Regions from separate parts of the Homo sapiens genome. Here all the other regions are linked to region 5. Evidence: promoter capture Hi-C in 16 types of primary human blood cells and fetal thymus (Javierre and others, 2016). All regions are on one chromosome and are shown on one strand. The core of a region is centred on a gene start or on the middle of the fragment in contact, and the rest is flanking DNA. Distances in the headings are between cores, read along the strand shown.

Evidence for each region. The method cuts DNA at HindIII sites, captures the fragments that hold promoters and counts their contacts. A CHiCAGO score of 5 or more calls a contact.
Region 1: a contact is called between a fragment that was not itself captured here and the fragment with the promoter of HS3ST1 in region 5, in 8 of 17 cell types (total B cells, naive B cells, M0 macrophages and 5 more). The highest score is 13.8, in total B cells.
Region 2: a fragment that was not itself captured here is called in contact with the fragment with the promoter of HS3ST1 in region 5 in 15 of 17 cell types (total B cells, naive B cells, M2 macrophages and 12 more); the score reaches 22.6 in total B cells.
Region 3: a contact is called between a fragment that was not itself captured here and the fragment with the promoter of HS3ST1 in region 5, in 16 of 17 cell types (total B cells, naive B cells, M1 macrophages and 13 more). The highest score is 19.9, in total B cells.
Region 4: a fragment that was not itself captured here is called in contact with the fragment with the promoter of HS3ST1 in region 5 in 3 of 17 cell types (naive B cells, total B cells and monocytes); the score reaches 6.7 in naive B cells.
Region 6: the fragment with the promoter of ZNF518B here is called in contact with the fragment with the promoter of HS3ST1 in region 5 in 12 of 17 cell types (fetal thymus, M1 macrophages, total B cells and 9 more); the score reaches 13.9 in fetal thymus.
Region 7: a contact is called between a fragment that was not itself captured here and the fragment with the promoter of HS3ST1 in region 5, in 7 of 17 cell types (total B cells, naive B cells, megakaryocytes and 4 more). The highest score is 18.3, in total B cells.

Annotation. Positions count from the first base shown.
Region 1 is chr4:10,631,467-10,634,193 of GRCh38, forward strand. The region is part of intron 2 of CLNK (cytokine dependent hematopoietic cell linker); the gene reads right to left. Among named protein-coding and RNA genes, the nearest start is that of CLNK, 52 kb to the right of the region's middle. The HindIII fragment of the contact is 3,385 bases long and covers 1-2,727 here.
Region 2 is chr4:10,590,286-10,592,985 of GRCh38, forward strand. All of the region lies in intron 3 of CLNK (cytokine dependent hematopoietic cell linker), which reads right to left. Among named protein-coding and RNA genes, the nearest start is that of CLNK, 93 kb to the right of the region's middle. The HindIII fragment of the contact is 5,413 bases long and covers 1-2,700 here.
Region 3 is chr4:10,572,702-10,575,401 of GRCh38, forward strand. The region is part of intron 4 of CLNK (cytokine dependent hematopoietic cell linker); the gene reads right to left. All of the region lies in intron 3 of LOC105374481 (a long non-coding RNA gene), which reads left to right. Among named protein-coding and RNA genes, the nearest start is that of CLNK, 110 kb to the right of the region's middle. The HindIII fragment of the contact is 6,904 bases long and covers 1-2,700 here.
Region 4 is chr4:10,648,289-10,650,988 of GRCh38, forward strand. The region is part of intron 2 of CLNK (cytokine dependent hematopoietic cell linker); the gene reads right to left. Among named protein-coding and RNA genes, the nearest start is that of CLNK, 35 kb to the right of the region's middle. The HindIII fragment of the contact is 1,760 bases long and covers 482-2,241 here.
Region 5 is chr4:11,427,503-11,430,202 of GRCh38, forward strand. HS3ST1 (heparan sulfate-glucosamine 3-sulfotransferase 1) reads right to left here and starts at 1,392. Exons shown (of 2, transcript NM_005114.4): 1 at 1,197-1,392. RefSeq lists an enhancer at 1,048-1,267 and a silencer at 1,358-1,537. The HindIII fragment of the contact is 3,893 bases long and covers 1-2,700 here.
Region 6 is chr4:10,456,153-10,458,852 of GRCh38, forward strand. It overlaps ZNF518B (zinc finger protein 518B), which reads right to left and starts at 1,274. Exons shown (of 3, transcript NM_053042.3): 1 at 1,165-1,274. RefSeq lists enhancers at 340-399, 382-1,197, 460-619 and a silencer at 750-1,389. The HindIII fragment of the contact is 4,989 bases long and covers 1-2,700 here.
Region 7 is chr4:10,612,760-10,615,473 of GRCh38, forward strand. All of the region lies in intron 2 of CLNK (cytokine dependent hematopoietic cell linker), which reads right to left. Among named protein-coding and RNA genes, the nearest start is that of CLNK, 71 kb to the right of the region's middle. The HindIII fragment of the contact is 7,189 bases long and covers 1-2,714 here.

The DNA.
Region 1 (2,727 bases), core at 72-2,571, 800 kb before region 5:
ACAGGCAGCTGTAAGTTTTGCAGATCTTTGCATTATGTGAAAATAAGATGAGGACCCTTGGTGGATAGGCAGTTGATCAATCAGTTAATCTAGACATGTATATGCAATGGTCAGGAACTAGGGGTAAAGCAAATAATTTTAAACATTACAGAACAATTTCAGTAATCTTTGATTCGTGTCTAATATTAATTCATTCTAGCCTCATTACCAAGTAACCAAGATATAGAGGAGAGAAAGGGAAACGAACAAGTGAAAGGGAAAATATTTCAACTGTAGTGTCTGCCAATTAGAAAATGTTCTTTTTAGTCTCAAAGCAACTCTATGACATAGAAGTTACCTTTACTTTTTAGTGAAGCTCACACAGGCAAAAGGATTTTCTCAATTCTCCTTCAGAGGTCACACAGCTATTGGACAATTGGGTAAGGATTCAAATATGTCTTTTTTTGAGGTCTGTCTTTTTATTTAAACACCTACCCCTGTTTCTGAAATAGAAGGCTCAAGGTGCGCATTACCTGATTTACAGATTGAGTTGCAGTATAACATGGTGGCTGAAGGCATGAATAGCTCTTGTCTAGGGTGTTTACCTGCTATCTCTAATTGGATGACTGATAAGCATGTAAAATTTAAAATATCCAAAACGTAACTCTTAACATTCAAAACTCCATCTTCCCAGACTTCCTTGGTTCAGTGAATGGCAACTTCTTTTCCCCAGTTGTACAGTACGAGTGTCCAGGCATCGTCCTTGACCATCTCATGCCTCTGGACCAGTTCATAACCAATGCTGGAGATTTTCCCTCCAAACTATCTTGAGTCTTTCCACCTCTCTCCATCTGACCTCTGCCATGTCCACCATCATCTTTTTCTATCTCCAAGCCCACAAAATGTGAAGACAATGTCCTTAGCCCTTAGCAGGAATTCAACAGGAATACATCAGGAGAGGGGGAGGGACTTCTAATTCTGCCCAGGCAACATGCACAGTATCCCACGCATATCAGACTATACAACTTTCATTTAACATCTACAACCTTTGTGTGACTATTTGTGGAATATTCATTTCCTGTACTAAGTTGAAATGCCACAAGGGCAGGGTCATCTTTTTTTGTGCATCATTGTACCCCTAGGTCTAGCCTAGTGCCTGACATTCACTTCAGCTCATCTCTTGCTAAATGCCATTGGTGCACATTGCCCCCCTTTTTAAACACAACAGACTTTCTCTTTGTCTTCAAGAATGTTCTTACTATTGAAAAGATCATGCCACACACCCATGTTACCTTTGTCATTTTTATTCAGTTTTCACAGAAAAATTCTCAATTTTCATTTGCACAATTTTCAATGCTCTCACTACTTTTGCATTCGTCATGTATTAGGAACTAAATACTATTTAAAAATACCTCAAAATTGGCCCAAATAAGCAGATGAGGCTGCTAGCTAACTCATAACAGAAGCATTTTATCTTATTTTGAGACAGAGAAAAGATAAGCATTTTATCTTATTTTGACTGAGGCCTGTCAACCAGGCCAGAGTGCAGGGGCGTGATCTCAGCTCACTACAACTTCTGCCTCCTGGGTTCAAGCAATTCTCCTGTCTCAGCCTCCTGAGTATCTGGGATTACAGGCATGTGCTACCACACTAGGCTAATTTTTGTATTTTTAGTAGAGATGGGGTTTGGCCAGTTTGGTCAGGCTGGTCTCGAACTCCTGACCTTAGGTGATCTGCCTGCCTCGGCCTCCCAAAGTGCTGGGATTACGGCATCAGCCACCACACCTGGCCTGGAAAATTTTAAATTTGGAAATTCCTTTCCCTGCTAGAATCAAAGCTAAAAGTTTTTAAGTTTAGAGAATGTGCATTCTCTCAAGTCGACAGCGTTATTCTTTGTGCATGTGTTACCATCTTCATCAGCTTTGTTGCGACTGATGGGCTGCAGCTTTCCCAGAGCATCTGATGCAAGCACAGATTTATTGAACGCTTACTCTGTGCCAGATGATAGGTTAACGCTTCATCTACATTCTCCCATTTAATTCCCATTCCCTATATGGTGAATTTAATTGTGATCATGGTTTGCAGGTGAAGAAAACGAGAGACGCAATTTGACAGAGACCCATGCCTAATCCAGGAACATCTGAGCCTAGAACCAATGCTCGTAGGTGTCTATCTGCAAGGTCTCCAAAGAGCAAGAATTCTGTCATCCTTGTACTTCACTCATTTATAACTGCTCCATACCATTCCAAACAGTACAAATGTAATTTGGCTGTATATACAGAAGCAGACAGAATCTGTCACTCATAATGGTAATAGAATTGGCAATCATACTATTGCCATAATCAGTGCTAGATATTGTTATGCACTTTCACATACAATATTTCATTTGTTCCCTATATCAGCCCTTTGTGGTTGGTTGTACTGGAAAAGGCTAAACAATGTTGGGTGCTCAGTTGCATAATGGTAATAGCTATGCACTGAGTTCCCATTAATACTTAGGCCAACTAGTGAGGTCAGAATGAGAACTCCCATTTTACAGACAAGGAAAATGAGATTCAGCATAGTTAAGCCCCCTGTATAAGATCACACAGGTAGAGCTGGGTGCAGACTGATGGGCTCACCCTGAGCCATTCCCTTTGTCATCATGTTGAAGTCACTCCCCTTGGATAATACTTGCATTTTTAAGGTGCCAGAGCTCAGAGAAGAGAAACAGAGTCCATCAGGGTCATTAGTAAGGCCCATAAGAAG
Region 2 (2,700 bases), core at 141-2,640, 840 kb before region 5:
CTCTTCCACTTCTCTCTCCTGCTGCCCAGCAGAACTGGCTTTGATGAAGTAGACAGGGCATGCTTGCCTTCTACTTATCCATGGGAACAGAGTTTGGATGGTGTGTTATTCCAGTCCCATAGAGAGGGATTTGGTTCTGTCTCCAGGGTCAAGCTCCTGGCATGGAGATGAATCTTTCTTTGCCCCCTTGAGTGTGGTATGCAGTCCTTTGGTTCTCCCCAGGCACCGACTGTTAGTCCAGAATTCAGCAGCGAAACCCCTGGGAAAAGATCAGGGTGATTTCACACTGCCAGCCTTCTCTCTCTCTCAAACCTCTGAAATTAACTGGCCCAGCTCCACATCTCATTTTAAGTTCACCCCCTGACATTAGAAGGCTACTCTAGAATAAGATTCTCTGATTTTTGAAAGACAATTTGTACTTCTAAGAGTTACTCATTTTAAATATAATCTAGATAAAAACAAGGAAGGATGGAAAGTTTCTGCATTCATCACCTTCTTTCCTCTAGTTGAACGTCTGCACTGCATCTGGAACTGAGCACTGTACAAAAATGATTTCACTCAAACCTCATAGCAATTCTTGGTGGAAAGCATCTTTATCTCAATTTTAGGGCCATTGTAAAATATCACTAGTGCCAAAAGGGACATTAAACACCATAAACGAACCCTTTAATTTTGCAGATGGATTAGCTGAGGTTAGCCCTCTTGGGAGTGCCACCGAGTCTGTCTGATGACACATCTCTCCACCACTCAAAGGTGGAGCGTTTGCACCATGGAGCTGTGGGGACTATGGTTTGGAAATGCACAGTGTGCTCAGACAGTAGGGAATCTGGAGGGATGAATGAGCAAAGCCTGTGTCATCCTAGAGGTCGTGTGGAGGTTTGCAAGAGTAAAGGATGCTTAGAACTGTGTCTCACAGAGGTAACGTAGGAACACACAGCATTGATTTGAGAGAGGAGTGGACTCTGTAATATTCTAGGGAATAGGTATGATGGCCTGGACAGACCGTTTATCTTGTTTCCCATGTGGCCACCAATGCCCTCTTCTCCTTATTTGGGCATATTCTTGGTACCTATGTAATGGAACTCACACTGACATAACTAGAACAGAATGCAACTGGAATTCTCAGACTGCCTACCCTGAACCTCTAGCTCCTAAATGGGAGGTCTGGTGCCTAACACAGTGCCTGGAGCATGTGCACACCAATGTGGTGCTGAATGGGTAAGAGTGAGTGAATGTGTGAGTGAATGAATGCCACAGGCACATGCAGAGGGAAATATACAAAAGAGGGCATCCCAAAGTGAGACGGGCCAGAGATACACTGCAGATCATGTCTGGGTCTATACCTGGACCTGTCCTATCCGAGCAAGGCCAATGGAGTGCCTGGCACGTAGTAGGAAACTACTCCACGTGTGTGCACAAGTGCCACTTAAATTCCCCTGGAATCGGTTGTACATTTTCAAGATTAGAGATTGGAGAGCCTCTCTCAATCCAGATGAAATTCACTCTGAGGTGGAATCAGGCCAAGGCTCATTTTAAATAAGTGAATCCATGGGTTCATTCTTTCTAGAAGGCATTCCCTATTGGTTTCAAGAATTCTCCTCTTACCTATTTTATTTGTATAAGAAATATTTGGGGCATGTAATTCCCTGAAGGGGACCTGGGAAAAACACTGGAAGTGTTTAGTGCCACTCACAACTCTCATCAAGCTCATACACCCAAGACCCTCTTGGCCGAGTGAGGCTCCCACCTCCTCAGACCCTGCCCTGCCGGGGCCTGTCTGGTCTCCTCCCTCCTCTGAGAACCTGTGGCACTTCTTACTCGAATCATGCATTTAGTAAATCTGGACGATGACATATAATTATTCATTTATTATTTAAATCTCATATTGTAAAACCTTACTTGAGTTTTTTTCCTTTCCTCAATTAGACTTTAAGTTCTTTGAGGGCAGAAAACATGTCTATATAAGCTATAGTCCTGTTCCTATAAGCTATCAATCAGTGCTCCCAATACATATTAAAAAACAAAAACAAAAATATTTGACACTCTGATGGGTTCTGCAGCAGACAAGTAGAGTAGCAGGATGATTTGCCAGACATGTTTTAGCTCAGACATTCCTCTAGCGGGCAGAGCCACTCCTGAAATCCCTTCATCCACTCTCTGAGCCTCCCCCACTTCCCCACTTGGTCTCTGTCTTCTTCCTCCTTTCTCCATCCTTCTCTCCCTATTGAAGTTTCTTTTTCACGTCTATTTAAGTATCTAGTAAGTGCCAGGCATCATAGGAGGCTCTCGGTATACTACAGATCAACAGCATCCTAGGGTTATCCACAACATAAGAACCTAGGGTTCTGCCTTGATTCTTCCTTCTTCCTACTCCCCCATCAGCCAATGTTTCTTGAGCATCTACTTGTTGTTTGTTTGTTTGTTTGTTTGTTTATTTATTTATTTATTAGTTTCTTTTGAGGCAGAGTCTCACTCTGTCGCCCAGGTTGGAGTGCAGTGAGGTGATGTCAGCTCACTGCAACCTCCACCTCCCGAGTTCAAGAGATTTTCCTGCCTCAGCCTCCCTTGTAGCTTGGATTACAGGCACCCACTACCATGCCTGGCTAATTTTTGTATTTTTTAGTAGAGATCAGGTTTTGCCATGTTGGCCAGGCTGGTCTGGAACTCCTGACCTCAAATGATCCACCCATCTCAGCCTCC
Region 3 (2,700 bases), core at 113-2,612, 850 kb before region 5:
TGGCTGCCAAGAAATTCAGGATAAATTTCTGAATTTCATCTAAGTATTGTGGAGGACCACGATGTGATAAGCATTTCTACTTCTTGCTCTGGCTTTATCATTTTCCCATTTTGTTTTGTTTTGTTTTGTTTTTTCTTGTTTTTTTGAGACACAGTCTTGTTCTGTCACCCAGGCTGGAGTGCAGTGGTGCAATCTCAGCTCACTGCAACCTCCACCTCCTGGGTTCAAGCGATTCTCGTGCCTCAGCCTCCCGAGTGGCTGGGATTACAGGAGCACACCACCACACCCAGCTAATTTTTTGTATTTTTAGTAGAAATGGGTTTCACTATGTTGGCCAGGCTATTCTCGAACTCCTGACCTCAAATGATCCGCCTACCTTGGCCTCACAAAGTGCTGGGATTGCAGGTATGAGCCATGGCACCTGGCCTTTTATTTTCTTAAACATTAGTTATTTCACTCTGAATTCCCCTATCTTACCAAAATATGAAATAAAGAGTTGTTAATTGTATCAGCATGCCCAAATCTTTTCTAAGGTGTAATGTACAAATTAATGCAAATTTGGCTCAGTGGAAACACAGTTCTCTGGAATTTGCCTAGGACCAGTACATATGGGAAGTGTTAATGAGACAGAGCTAATCTCCTTGAAATAATGAGCTGGGAGGAACAGAATCCTGCCTACACCTGCCCCTGGTCCCAGCCCATCCTTGGGGTTGGATAGCAGCTCTAGGGCACTGATGACACCTTCCTGACCCAGCACAATTACATCCCCACTGAGATCCCTGGCAGAGAAACCAACACGTTTTCCAGCCCTTTAGAGCAGCAATTTGTACTCTCTCATGAATCGAGTTAAATTAATAAGGTCACCCATTAAAGACCAGCTGGCCCGGAAGGAGCAAATGAGCTCAGAATTATTGGGGATCTGCTCTGGCCCTCGTTATCGAGGAAAACAACTCCACTGTTTAATTCAGGGTTCAATATAATTTCATTTTAGAAAATTGGCCTCAAGGAGTGCGGTCATGATACTGACATCTTCTTGGGGAGCTGCGGGGTCTCCTTTCTCACCAGAGGCGAGCGTTCCAGCCTGAGACTCTCCCAGATTCCCCAAATACGCTTCATGCCCCTTCTGTGTCTGTGGGTACAGACCCTGCCTGGAGCCTCTTCTCCCTCTCACCTCCCCTTTGCTTCCCAAATGCTCATCATCCTTTCAGATCCCATTTCTCTGCTTTTCTCTCTGACTACTCCAGGCCACATCAATCTCACTGAATTGTTAACGCATATGTTTTCTGTCTCACTCACCATGACATTTAAATACGAATAGGCAGGATCTGATTACTTTTTTGTTGTGTGTTCTTTAGGGAAGGAATTGCCTTTTATCTCTCAGTCTCCTAGAGTACCTATCTGTGTCATCAGTGCAGAGTTTTGGAAAATGCAATTTTAAAGCCTGATCCTAACACCGTGCATCAGTTCATGTCACTCATGGCCCATGTCATACAGACTAGGTGCCCTGTGTGGCCCCCAGAGCTCAGCACAACCTGCCCCACCCTGCTCTCTGACCTCATCCCTTTTCAGCCTCTTCTCTCCTGGACCAAACTGTAGTCAGGCTACCTTGAACTCTCTTCTCTGTGAGGCCCTACCTTGTGGGATTCCATATTCATTTCTGCATTGTCCAATTTTTGCAAGACTCCTGCTCAGTCAGTTTAGCCAGAATCTCCCATTCTCCATGTCTGATCAGCCTCCATATCTCATCCAATCAGGGCCCTCCTCTGCCACCTTCCTCTGGTGATGTCTGATCACCCTGGTCTGCCTTCCGCAAGAACATTTCAGGTCAGTTTAGCCGGAAACCACCTCTGCCCCCGCCCTTTCCCTTACCCCTGAGGTTTCCTCTTTGTAATTTTCCTTTCCCAGACCCTCACGCCACTCCCTTTAAGGGAGGAGACCACCCCTCATATTGTCTTATGCCCAATATCTGCCTCCAAAGAAAGAAGTAAAAACTAAAAGGCAGAAATGAAATCCACAGGCAGACAGCCTGGCGTTGCACCCTGGGCCTGGTTAAAGATTGACCCCTGACCTAACCGCTTATGTTATCTATAGATTCCAGACATTGTATGGAAAAGCATTGTGAAAATCCCTGTCCTGTTCTGTTCCGTTCTGATTACTGGTGCATGCAACCCCCAGTCATGTACCCCCTGCTTGCTCAGTCAATCACGACCCTCTCACGCGGACCCCCTTAGAGTTGTAAGCCCTTGAAAGGGACAGGAATTGCTCACTTGGGGAGCTCGGTTGTTGGAGACGTGAGTCTTGCCAAAACTCCTGGCAGAATAGAGCCCTTCCTTCTTTAACTCGGTGTCTGAGGGGTTTTGTCTGCAGCTTGTCCTGCTACACCTTGGCTATAAATTTCCACTTGTCCGTATTGTATTCTGAGTTGAGCCCAGTCTCTCCCGTACTGCACTCATTGTGGTAATCCCGTACCTATCTCCATTGTCTGGAATAAAGCCTGTCTCAGCATTCTGCAATAAGAATCATGAAACTCTTCCTTTACCTCTTTCTCACCTCCGACTTCAGCTGCTTCAGCCAGCCTCTCCTTGAGTCTGCCAGCACACCCAGCTCACGCTACTTCAGGAGCTTGCACACACCATCCCTCTGTCTAGAGCCCTCTTTTCTTGGCTCTGCCCATGCCTGGATCTTTGTCCACCATCCAAC
Region 4 (2,700 bases), core at 112-2,611, 780 kb before region 5:
AAACTGACCAATTTATCTGTGTCTCAAATGCTATTATATGCTGGAGCTGTTATTGTCTTAGGACTCCAAGATCAAAGAACTAAAAATTAAGTGTCATGCAATGCCACATATTTCTCATGTGCTTTACATACATTATATCATGTAACTCTTATCTAGCAGAGAAAAGATTGGAACTGTGGTCTGGTTTATTTCAAGGCTTAATCTCTTCTCACATAATCTCTTGTCACAGCAGCCATAGTCATCTATCTTCATGATCAAATGTTCTGCTACTTCAAGCATGGTCATATGAAAGATGGTGGAGAAAATTGGTAGAAGTTATAGTATTTCTTTTTCCGATGAAGAAATCCAAGGCTTACAGAGTAAAGGTTTTGCCTGGGTTCACAGAGCTTGTGAAAGGTGGAGAGAAAATGAGGGCTCTGGCTTTCTGGTTCTGAGTCAATGGTTTCCCCTTTGTTCCATTCTTCTAGACATTCATGCCCAAAGCTTGAAAGAACACAGAAGCTCAGTACTAATAAAATTCTTCTCAAAGTTATCTCAATCATCTCATGCATCTTATCGACTTCACATTTCCCTGACAATGAGAGGGTCAGTGCTCATTCCACTCTTTCATCTCTCAAACCAGGGAGATCTGGTTTTTGCATCTTAATATATAGATTAGCCCTTGAATCCTTTATCTCTGAAGATTAAATCTATTGAGATAATGTATTTGAATAGGAAGAGCACAAAGTTTGGCATGCAGTAAGAGCTTAATTCATGCTCGTTGAAGGTGCCTTTGTAAAACGTTAGTGAATCACGTTAAGCAAAGAACAGATGTGTTACTTTTCTTTACGTAAAAATAAGAGCACCAATGATTGAATGAAAAACGTAAAATCCTACTTCCTTCTATTTTAACTATAATTTTATTAAAATAAAAAAATTGAATTCCACAGGGAGAATATTGTTTATTTCTTGTAGCATAATAAACAGATATCATGATTAACCTTCAATAGCAAAGTTTTTTAAGCAACTAATTTTCAGTTAATAGATGCCAAAAGCAGGGACTATTCAGAGAGAGTCCAAAATCTAAATGAAGGTGAATAAAGATGAGAACCTAGAAAGAGAAGCAAAGAACTGAAATCGCTTTCTCCTTGGTTGCTTTGCCAACACAGAGGAAAATGGCCTTTAATTTTCATGGCCTGGCAGAACATGGGAGACTTGATACAAAGCTCACATATTCTACACTGTGGAATAATCTAGCAGAAGAGTGACGGAAAGGAGTCTAATAGGAGGCCCACCTGTGTGTAAAACTGGCCCCTAAAGAGCTGCTCTCTCAGGGTAAGGGTGAACTAGAAATAAGCCTACCTCTCTACTCTCAAACATTGATACTTAAGGGACAAAATTTCCTCCTGAGAATTAACAAATATGCATGGGATTCCAGCCTAGATTGTCTAGAAACCTTCAATCTGAGTAATGTAAGGAAGGCCTGTTTTAATAGTTCCTTTAGGCACCCCAAAAAACAAATACAAATTTTCTCTGGGGGAGCACAATTTCAACCCAGGCCTCAAAGAATTCCCATGGGTTAATTTGTAAGAAATATGAGCAGGCAGACAAAATAAAAAAAAAAATGCTTCAGATAACAGCAGCAAAGTGAGAACTAGAAGAAATGACAGACAACAGGATTAGCTGTTCAGTCTAGATATTAAAACTAGTGGACAAATGTTACAGCCATATATCCATTAGTGGACACATGAACAAAGTGTACATATTATGTTTAACTAAGGAAAAGGAACTTTCATATAAAAAATAAAAATGAGACATAAAAATGATCAAGTAGATTTGTGAAAAAAATTATATTATAGGTTTAATACAGTTTAGACACAAATAAAGATACTTAACTCATTAACTGATATGTAAATCCTTAAAATGCATCATTCAGCATTCAGGCTAGAGTGAAGAAATAGAAACTCTGAATGAAAGGTTGGGAGATGAAGGCTAAAACGTGACGGTCTAGTATACATCTAATCAAAGTTTCAGAAAAAGATGGGAAAGAATGAGAGGAAAAAATACTCAAAGAGATAATGACAGAGTACTGAGAAATAGTGAAAAACAACAAAATAGAGAATCAGGATATCCAACGTATCCAAAGCAGGTTAAATAAGAAAAAACTCACATCTATCCATATTATAGTAAAACTACAGAAAACCAAAAAACATAGAGAAGATTTTAAAAGCATCCAGAGAGAAAATAAATATTGCCTTCAAAAGCTTTTATTTTTCATTAATACCTGTTGTTTGCCAAAGGGAATAAGAAATAAGTTTATGAGTCTGAGAGAAAACAACTGTCAATCTGAAATTATATGTCTAATAAATTCTAATGAAGTTATCATTGTAAGAAAATAAAGGCTTTTTTAGCATTAAAAAGTCTTTTCTTACTATATGCTTTCATTTAAAAAAAATTCCAAATTTTGTTCTTCATACTGAAAAATGCAATCCTCAATGGAAGGTTTGACATATAAAATTTGCAATCTATGCATCTGGCAAAAGGCTAATATCCAGAATCTACAAGGAACTTAAACAAATTTACAAGAAAAAAAAACAAACAACCTCATGAAAAAGTAGGTAAAGGATATGAACAGACACTTCTCAAAAGAAGACATTTATGCGGTCAACAAACATGAAAAAAACCTCATCATCACTGGTCCTTAGAGATATGCAAATCAAA
Region 5 (2,700 bases), core at 142-2,641:
GCCTCCCTAGAATCCCCCCAAAAGCATCTTGGCACAAGTTGTAGATAAAAATAGCTCATGATAACATTGTGGGAAAGGGAGGAGCGAGACTCGCGCAAGGCGAGGCAAGGGTACCACTGGATCTGCAAAGGAGGAGGAAGAGGGAGGATGCAACCCTTGGCCCAAGAGAGCGCCCTGAGTGTGCGAGGAATCGCTGGCTCCCAGGGGAGGGAAAGAGATGGAAGACCTATAGCGCCTATAACTGCAGAGTTATAGACCTATAACTGCAGAGCCCAGCACACCCCATCCCGCGCCGGCACCCGGCTTTGGCTCCAGCTTCTTCTTCCCATCATCCGCCTACGTTCTGGGTCTGTCCTCCGCTTCCTGGGACAGGCTGGGGCTAGAAGGAGGAGCAGCGCGCCGTCCGCCCCCTGGCTGGTAGAGCGCACCTGGAGAGGTCAAGCTCCGCGAATAAGACCCTTCCTGGGAGCTGGGGTCTAGGCGTTCCAACCGCGGGTTCGCACCCCGCCATCCCTCACCTCCATCCGCTGCCACTACCCAAGGGCCCGGAAATAGAAAACCACGAAGGGGGAAAAAAATCAGTAAAAAGTAACAAGAAAAAAATCAAGACCCTCATGTAATTGGCATTAGGGATGAGAGGTTTATTGTCAGGGCTGTCACCTCAATCTCTCTCTTTGGGAGATGCCTATCTCCAACCAAATGCAAAGGCAAACCCGACCAAGGCTTCTCCACCCCCAAAGGCTCCCTCAGCCGAGTTACTTTTGCGGGCTGTGTCCTCGCCCCAGTTTCTGGCCCCAGGTGGTACCCAGGATCCGTTGAGTGCTGCGCTCTCGCTGCCCTACAGGGTCCTATGGTGAAGCTGCGGTCGCGAAGCGGCCGGCAGGAGCGAACCTCACGACTCTGCAGGGGGGGAAAACATCCAACCCAGTAAGAGTCAGAAATCTGGGTCCCTGTCCTTACAGATCAACCGGTCCCTCGGGACTTCCAGAGCAGAGGTGCTAGGGCAGGAGGTGAGGAGGATGGGAAAATCCCCAGCCTTTGCTTCCTGGTTCCCTCTGCATCCACTCCACCTGCTCCAGCCTCGATTCTTCTTAGGTTCTGCACTTGCCCGAAGTCCAGAACGCCAGACAAAGGCACCTCGGAGCCCTCTACACCTGCGTCCTGCCACTCTCCCACCCCGCGCGCGCCGCACTCACCTGAGCCGCGCCTCTGTCCAGCCCGTCCGGCGCCCTAAATAGGCTCCTAGGCTGGGCCATGGGCAGCACTGCCGAGCACCCGCGGCGGGTAGAGCAAGTTTCTGGATGGCCCGGGGCAGGCGGGCGGGGAGAAGGCGCAGGCACCCACTGAGACCCGGCTGTCGTGGCGGCGACTCCTGGCTGCCAGGGCGCAGAGGACCTTGCAGGCGGGCGTTTTGGTGCTCAATCCCGAGGAGGGGGAGGAGCGGGAGGAGGAGCGGGAGCAAAAGGAGGGGACGGAGGAGGCCGGGCCCGGAGGGAGAGCGCGTTGGGCAGAGGAGGATCGCGAGCGCCCACTGCTGCCCGGCCCGCTCGGGTGCCGCCCAGAGTCCGGCCCGCTAGGTGCCTGGTGCTCCGCTCTGCGCTCAGCTGCTCCGCACAGCCCCGCCTGGCACGCAGCTCCAGCGGCTGGTCGGGTAGTAGTCGGTCCCGCCCACCCGGTGCGGTGGCCCCTGGGGTTTCAGTCCAAGGGGAGGGACCAGCGCTCCAAGAAGGTGAGGCTGCTGGGATGGGTGACTCCGCCGTCACTGCAAACACGGGACGTCCCGTCTACTCCCTTACGCCTGCTTGGTCTGAGCCCGAGTCTACCTCTTCTCTAAGTCGCCAGCTCGGCACTTGTACCCGGGACCTGTGCTCCTCCCACGTGAGTCTGCACCATGCGTATTCCCTTCCTGGCAGGTGACCCACCTTAGGCGCTGGCGCTCCTTCCGCCCCCCGGGAAGCAGGAGGTGCCATCCTCTCCAATTCGCTCTGCAGCCGGACTGGGACCGGAGCGGCGGCCTGGGCCAGAATCCGCGTGAGGAGCCGGCTTCAAAGAGCGCCCTGTCGCCATTGAACACTCCTTTTCCTTTGGTTTAGCGTCGGAGAGCGGACGCCAATTTGCCAGGAGAGCGCGGAAAATTCAGCTTTTTTTTTTTTTTTTTTTTTTTTTTTTTTCCGCTAGTGCACTAGGATTGCAAACGTCAGCTCTGAAATAAAAAGCAGGATATTTCTGCCCCGCTCCTCTATTCCGGAAGCTGGGAGGTTCTGTGGGAGAAAGGACCTGCACCCAATAACTCAATTTAAGATTTAAGGTTTTGAGGGGCGTGGGGTTGGAATCGCCTTGGAGAAACGGGTTTGCCTGCTTACCTGAGCCAAAGGAAGTTGCCCTCAAAGGCAGGTCAGCAATCATACCCCGCCAAAAGCAAATGCACATCAAAGTAACTTCCTTTAAATGAGATTACTGTAGTTTCCATGTCTTCCACATTAGTAAATAAATATTTGGAAGACTTCGAATTTGTGATTTACGTTTAAATATATTTCACCAACATTGTTTAATTAAAAAAAAATCCCATCTAAGAGAAGGTTCCTATAGGAAATTGGCCCTTTAACTCATACACAGATTACCCTCGGCACTTTCAGAAAACAACACAGTGACCAGTATATTCTGTCTTTTTGATACAGCCAGAAGCACCCTGAAAGCTGA
Region 6 (2,700 bases), core at 24-2,523, 970 kb before region 5:
CGTAGATTTGTACTTTTAAATAGGACATAATGCTCTGTAGTTTTTTTTTTTAATGTTACGTTGATAAATCGTTCATTATTACAATTTTTAAAGTCAGAGGTATTGTAACGGGATACATTAACTACCCAACTTATAAAGACTTAAGTGTTTTCTCCCGTTCGCTCTTTTGGCTTTTCCTTTCTGGTTAAGAAACTTTCATTCTTTTGAACCCTGCAATTTCTTGGCTTTACAGAGCCCCAAACCCCAAAGACACCAAGATAAGACGGGCAGGCCGGTATGGGGAGGTCCCACAATGACATCAGCATTTGGAACAATTCAAACCTTCACCATCTCTTCTCAACCTCCTATGTCCTCGCCCCCCGTAAAAGATGCGCAGGACCTCGATGGACGAGCCCACCCCTGACCCTCTCAAGGAAAGACAATGCCAGGCTGGTTTTCGAGTTTATTGTCGGCACGCTCCCCCGATGGCAGGCAGCATCCGAGGCGAGCGCGCCTGAGCCTGGGCGCTCGGAGGACGAGGCCAGGTGCATCGGGCGCATCGTCGTCTCCCAGGCGCGTCCCGCTCGCCGCGAGGGAAGGCCGGGGTTCTTCCAACCGAAGAAAACCAAAACCGTCAACGCTCAGCTCCGAGGCCCGCAGGAGGCTTTAAAAATGGCCTCCTGACGACACTTCCTGCTCGGCGCGGACGGTAGGAGCCCTCGGAGGAGGCATCCTTCATAACGCTGGGGGCGGGGAGCGCAGGCCGGGCCAGCGGCGCCACACGAACGGCCCCGCGGGACGCTGCCACCCCCGCCTCGGTCGCCCCGGCGCGTCGGCCGAGTCCGCGGGGTCGCGGCGCACAAAGGCGAGCTGGGGGCGCCGGGCCGGACCCCGACCCTAGGCCAGGCCCGCGTACCTGCTCAACGCGCGCCAAGCCGCGGCCCGGGCCCCCACCCCAGCCGGTGCCCCACGCCCACCAGCCGGAGCCCGCGTTCGGCCTACCCGGTGCCACTTGCCACGACGCCAGCCCTCAGCGCGGGCACGCGGGGCCGCGGCCGCTCGACCCGCCCCGGCCTGGCCCCGTCAGGCCCCCGCCCCGCGCGCCCCCACGACCCGGCCGCAGCTGGCGCTTCGGTCACGTACACGCGGATCCGGGGGCCCTCGCCCTCCCGCTCAGCTACTTACCCGGCAGGCCGGATTCGGGTGCCAGGTCCCGGCGAAGGGGCGTCTACACCGCCGGCCGCAGACCGCCGGCGCCGCGCCCGCTGTAGGTCCCTACCCGGGGGGCGGAGCCCGCGCCAGCCCCGCGCGTGCGCAATGTGAAGCGGCGGCGCGGCTCCAGCGAGGCCGGCGCCTGAGGTCTCTAAGGCTGCGCCCGCCCCCGCCGGGCTTCTAAGCTGTCCAGAGCGGGGAGCCTCAGACCCAGCCGAGCCCCACTTCTGGGCTTAGAGCTTGACCCAACACGTTCGCACCGTAGCGAGCGAGGTCCACATTTAGCCATGCCGCAGGCAAAAGAAGGATTCGGCTTCGGTCCTGGCCCAGTCTGCCATCCCGGGGCGCCTGCCTTGTACCGGGTCCCGCGGAGGGCGGCCTTGGCGCCTGCCTCCCTGGAGCCTGCAGTCCTGCAGTGGGTGAGTGAAAGCGAGAGAAGAGGAGCTCAGGTCCTCAGCCTCCAAACTCGTCTTCTTGGAGAGCTTCAGTGAAGGAGATGGCCTTGAAGTCCTGGGTACAAATCCTGACTCTCCCTACTCCTTTACATCTTAGCTGCTGGACCTTGGCGAGAAAGTCCCCTGACCTCTCTCAGTGTCTTCATTTCTGAAGACGGGGAAGGTCGTATGTGAGGCGCAAAGCCTCCTCTAGCAGTTGGGCGTTGCGAGGGTCAGAGGGGACAATGACTGTGGGAGTCTGGAGAGGGTGTGAGCTCATTTAATGCCAGAGTTTCTTTCCTGCCTCCTGGACTTCGGTGCTATTTTGGGCGAGCCAACTGCCCTCTAGATACACCTGCATCTACGGTCCGGAAGGAAGACATATTTAGAATAGAGCCTCTAAGAGGAAAGAAGAAGACCATATTGCCAGGTCCCGCACAATCAGTGACTCCCCACAAAGTGAAACAGCTCTCCAGCAGGGGCAGGTTGAGGCATGGGAGCAGCGTCACTGGGAAGTACAGTTTCTTCGGGATGAACAGCTAAAGTTTATTTCAAAGCTCTGGAGGCGGGGGCGGGGCAAGGCTGGTTTCCATCACCTTCCTGTTGGCGGCCAAAGGTCGGCGTGCACGGACAGCGGCCAGTATGCTGCACGGAGGAGATGTGGGCCTGGGCAGTACTGCCACACGGAGAAGCGGAGTTGAAGAAGACAGGCTCAGCCACAAGTCCAGCAGCTGGGCAAAACCTCCACCACTAAAGTATCAGGAGCTGGGCAGAGAAAATAGCAGCCCAGAGAGCAAATCCTTCTTCCTGCCCTAGGCTGCAGTGCTCCTAACCTCGGTCCTGATCAGGGAGCTGCTAGGGTCCTGGTTTTCTATCTCCTAGGGCTCAGAAAAGCTAAGGAACCTCTTCTCAGAAAAACACATTTATGTGCAGATAGCACCTATCAGAGAGAATATGCCAGAGAGTTCAAAGTCTCCCTCAAGAGTAGGGTCAAGTTGGGAAAGGCATTGAGAATCCAAACTAGGAGCCACTGCCTGAAAATCTCTAGTGGCAAACAGAGCCACATCAGGAAAAA
Region 7 (2,714 bases), core at 58-2,557, 810 kb before region 5:
AAAAGATAATCAAACCCAGGAAGCCAGGGTTGGAGTCAATCATTATATCTCATCTGTGTTCCCCAGGGACTGTTTAATAGCAGCATTTGGCATCGAAGGTGTTTAGGTTTTGCTACATATTGAGAATATTGTAAGAATTAAATGAGATAATGCATGCAAAATGCTTACAACCATGCTTGGAATAGAACAAGTCCTCAGTAAGTATTTAGGCTAGAAATTTTTACCAAAATGAATTCAACAACACATTTATTTTTTTCTTAGTGCTCAATGTGGGCCGAGAATTACTCTCAGTGCTCAAGATATATCAGTGAACAAAATAAAGAAGATGGCTAATTCCTATGGAACAAAGCAGAAAAGGATCTCTATCCATGGAACAGAGAAGGACAACAATAACAGTAAACAGAATGAATCAGGAATGGGTATAGCATGTTAGCAGGTGATAAGGTGCTCTGGAAGGACTGTAGAGCAGGTGGGGGAATCAGAGTGCTGGGTGGGGTGGGCAGGTGGGTATGAATAGTCCTTGGGGTGGTCAAGGTGAGCCTTGCTGGAAAGATGGGAACAGGGAAAAGGCACTGGGCACATCAGCTGTGGGATAACTGAAGGAAAAGTTCAAAGGCAGGAATGTGGCTAAGTAGTTGAATCAAGGTAATGAGGTCCACGTGGCTGAACTGGAATGCCTGCAGGGATGGATGGGGAAGATGGTCCAAGAGCCTTTTGGGAGAATCAAGGCAGATGTGACAATACCCTGTCTGTAGTCATTGAGAGGCACTAGACTTAGGCCATGGCTATGAAGCCATGTCAGGGTCTCAGACACAGGAACACAAAGATAACAATTATGACTCAATAGGATCTCTCTGTCTTCTGGCTAGAGAATAGGTATGTCATTGAGGGATAAAGTGGAAGCAGAGAGACCCTTTGGGAAGCTATTGCCACAACCCCAGCAGGAGATGGAACAGGGTGGGAGCAGGGGAGGTGTTACTCTCTTTGTAGTAGCTGAGACTTCACCCACAGAATTAATCTCTCCTGAATGTCTGCTCTTTTGGAAACCATTAAAAAAGCAAGCCCACTTTGTATGTTTTCCCTTGTTCCATCCTGAATAGTTCATCTGACTCTGTGGCTTTGTCTTTGACAACCTGCAGGATAGGTTCTGTCTCACCTGGAGAATGTGCTTAAGATTCCAGAGGAAGCAGGGAGCCAGGTGCTGACCAAGGACCCTGAATGCCCAGGCCACCCTCAGTGGCAACCACCATACCAACTGGAGATTGAGAGAGCAACATCGGACTCATAGTGTGCCTGCCCTCTCCACATTGAAATTTCTCCAGCTGTAATATAGGAATTTAGATTATTTGGGCTCTGAGAGTCTTCTGGCTCAAACTCCAGTAAATGTAGTGATTAAATTCTCCTCCCCTGGCAGATGTCTGGGTGAGATGTCTGCATGGAGCCTGCTGGTAGGAAATTTCTGTGGGATGTTAGACATCTTGTGTGTATGGTAACTAGCACGTTGATGAGTGGCTCAAATAATGGTAAACACTGTCATTACAGAGATGCCAGGTGACCTGGATATGTTAGATTTATCCACATAGAGCCCTGGTTCCCTTAAGTAAGGCTGAGTTTTCATCCTTGGTTCTACAGATATCTATGATGCCGTTGTTTCTCCAGGAACTCTCCTCCGCAGACTTAGGCTCTTCTAGAAGGTTGAATATCATCGACATTAAGAGTGTGGGATTTGGAATTGGCTAACTGGCCAGATCTGTTTTTCAGCCTGAGAATTCCCATTTCTTGCTAGTCAAAGTGTGGTTCCCAGACCAGCAGCATCTCCCAAGGGCTGGTTAGGCAGGCAGAATCCCAGACACCACCCCAGCCCCACTGAACCGAAATCTGCATTGTAATAAGAGGCCACGGAATCTGTGTGCACATTCAAGTTGGAGGAAGTTGATGTGATCCCTCTGGGATTTATTTCTCTTATCTGCAATACAGTTGATGACAGCATGTCACAGAATTGTTGTAAGGATCAAAAAATCAATACATAAAGAGCCTTGTTGTGATTGTTTCCTATGAGTACCCACTCTCCTAATCACAGAGGTCATCTGGTTGCTATCAGTTCTGGGTGCACTAATAACAGAGATTAGAAGAGCAAAGAAGGGGCTGGGTGCGGTGGCTCACACCTGTAATCCCAGCACTTTGGGAGGTCTAAGAAGGGAAGATCACTTTAGGTCAGGTGTTCGAGACCAGCCTGGCCAACATAGCAAAACGCCATCTCTACTAAAAATACAAAAATTAGTCACTCATGGTGGTGCATACTTGTAATTCCAGTCACTCAGGTGACTGAAGCAGGAGAATTGCTTGGACCCAGAAGGTGGAGGTCGGCAGTGACCCGAGTTTGTGTCACTTCACTCCAGCCTGAGCAACAGGGTGAGACTCTTAAAAAACAAGAAAGAGGCTGGGCGCGGTGGCTTATGCCTGTAATCCCAGCACTTTGGGAGGCCAAGACGGGCAGATCACCTGAGGCCAGGAGTTCGAAACCAGCCAGGCCAACATGGCAAAACCCTGTCTCTACTAAAAAATACACAAATTAGCCAGGCATGGTGGCACATGCCTATAATCCCAGATACTTGGGATTGGAAGGAGGAAGGAGAATCGCTTGAAGGAGGGAGGAGGGAGGAAAGAGAATAGCTTGAATCTGGGAGGCGGAGGTTGCAGTAAGCAGAGGTCGT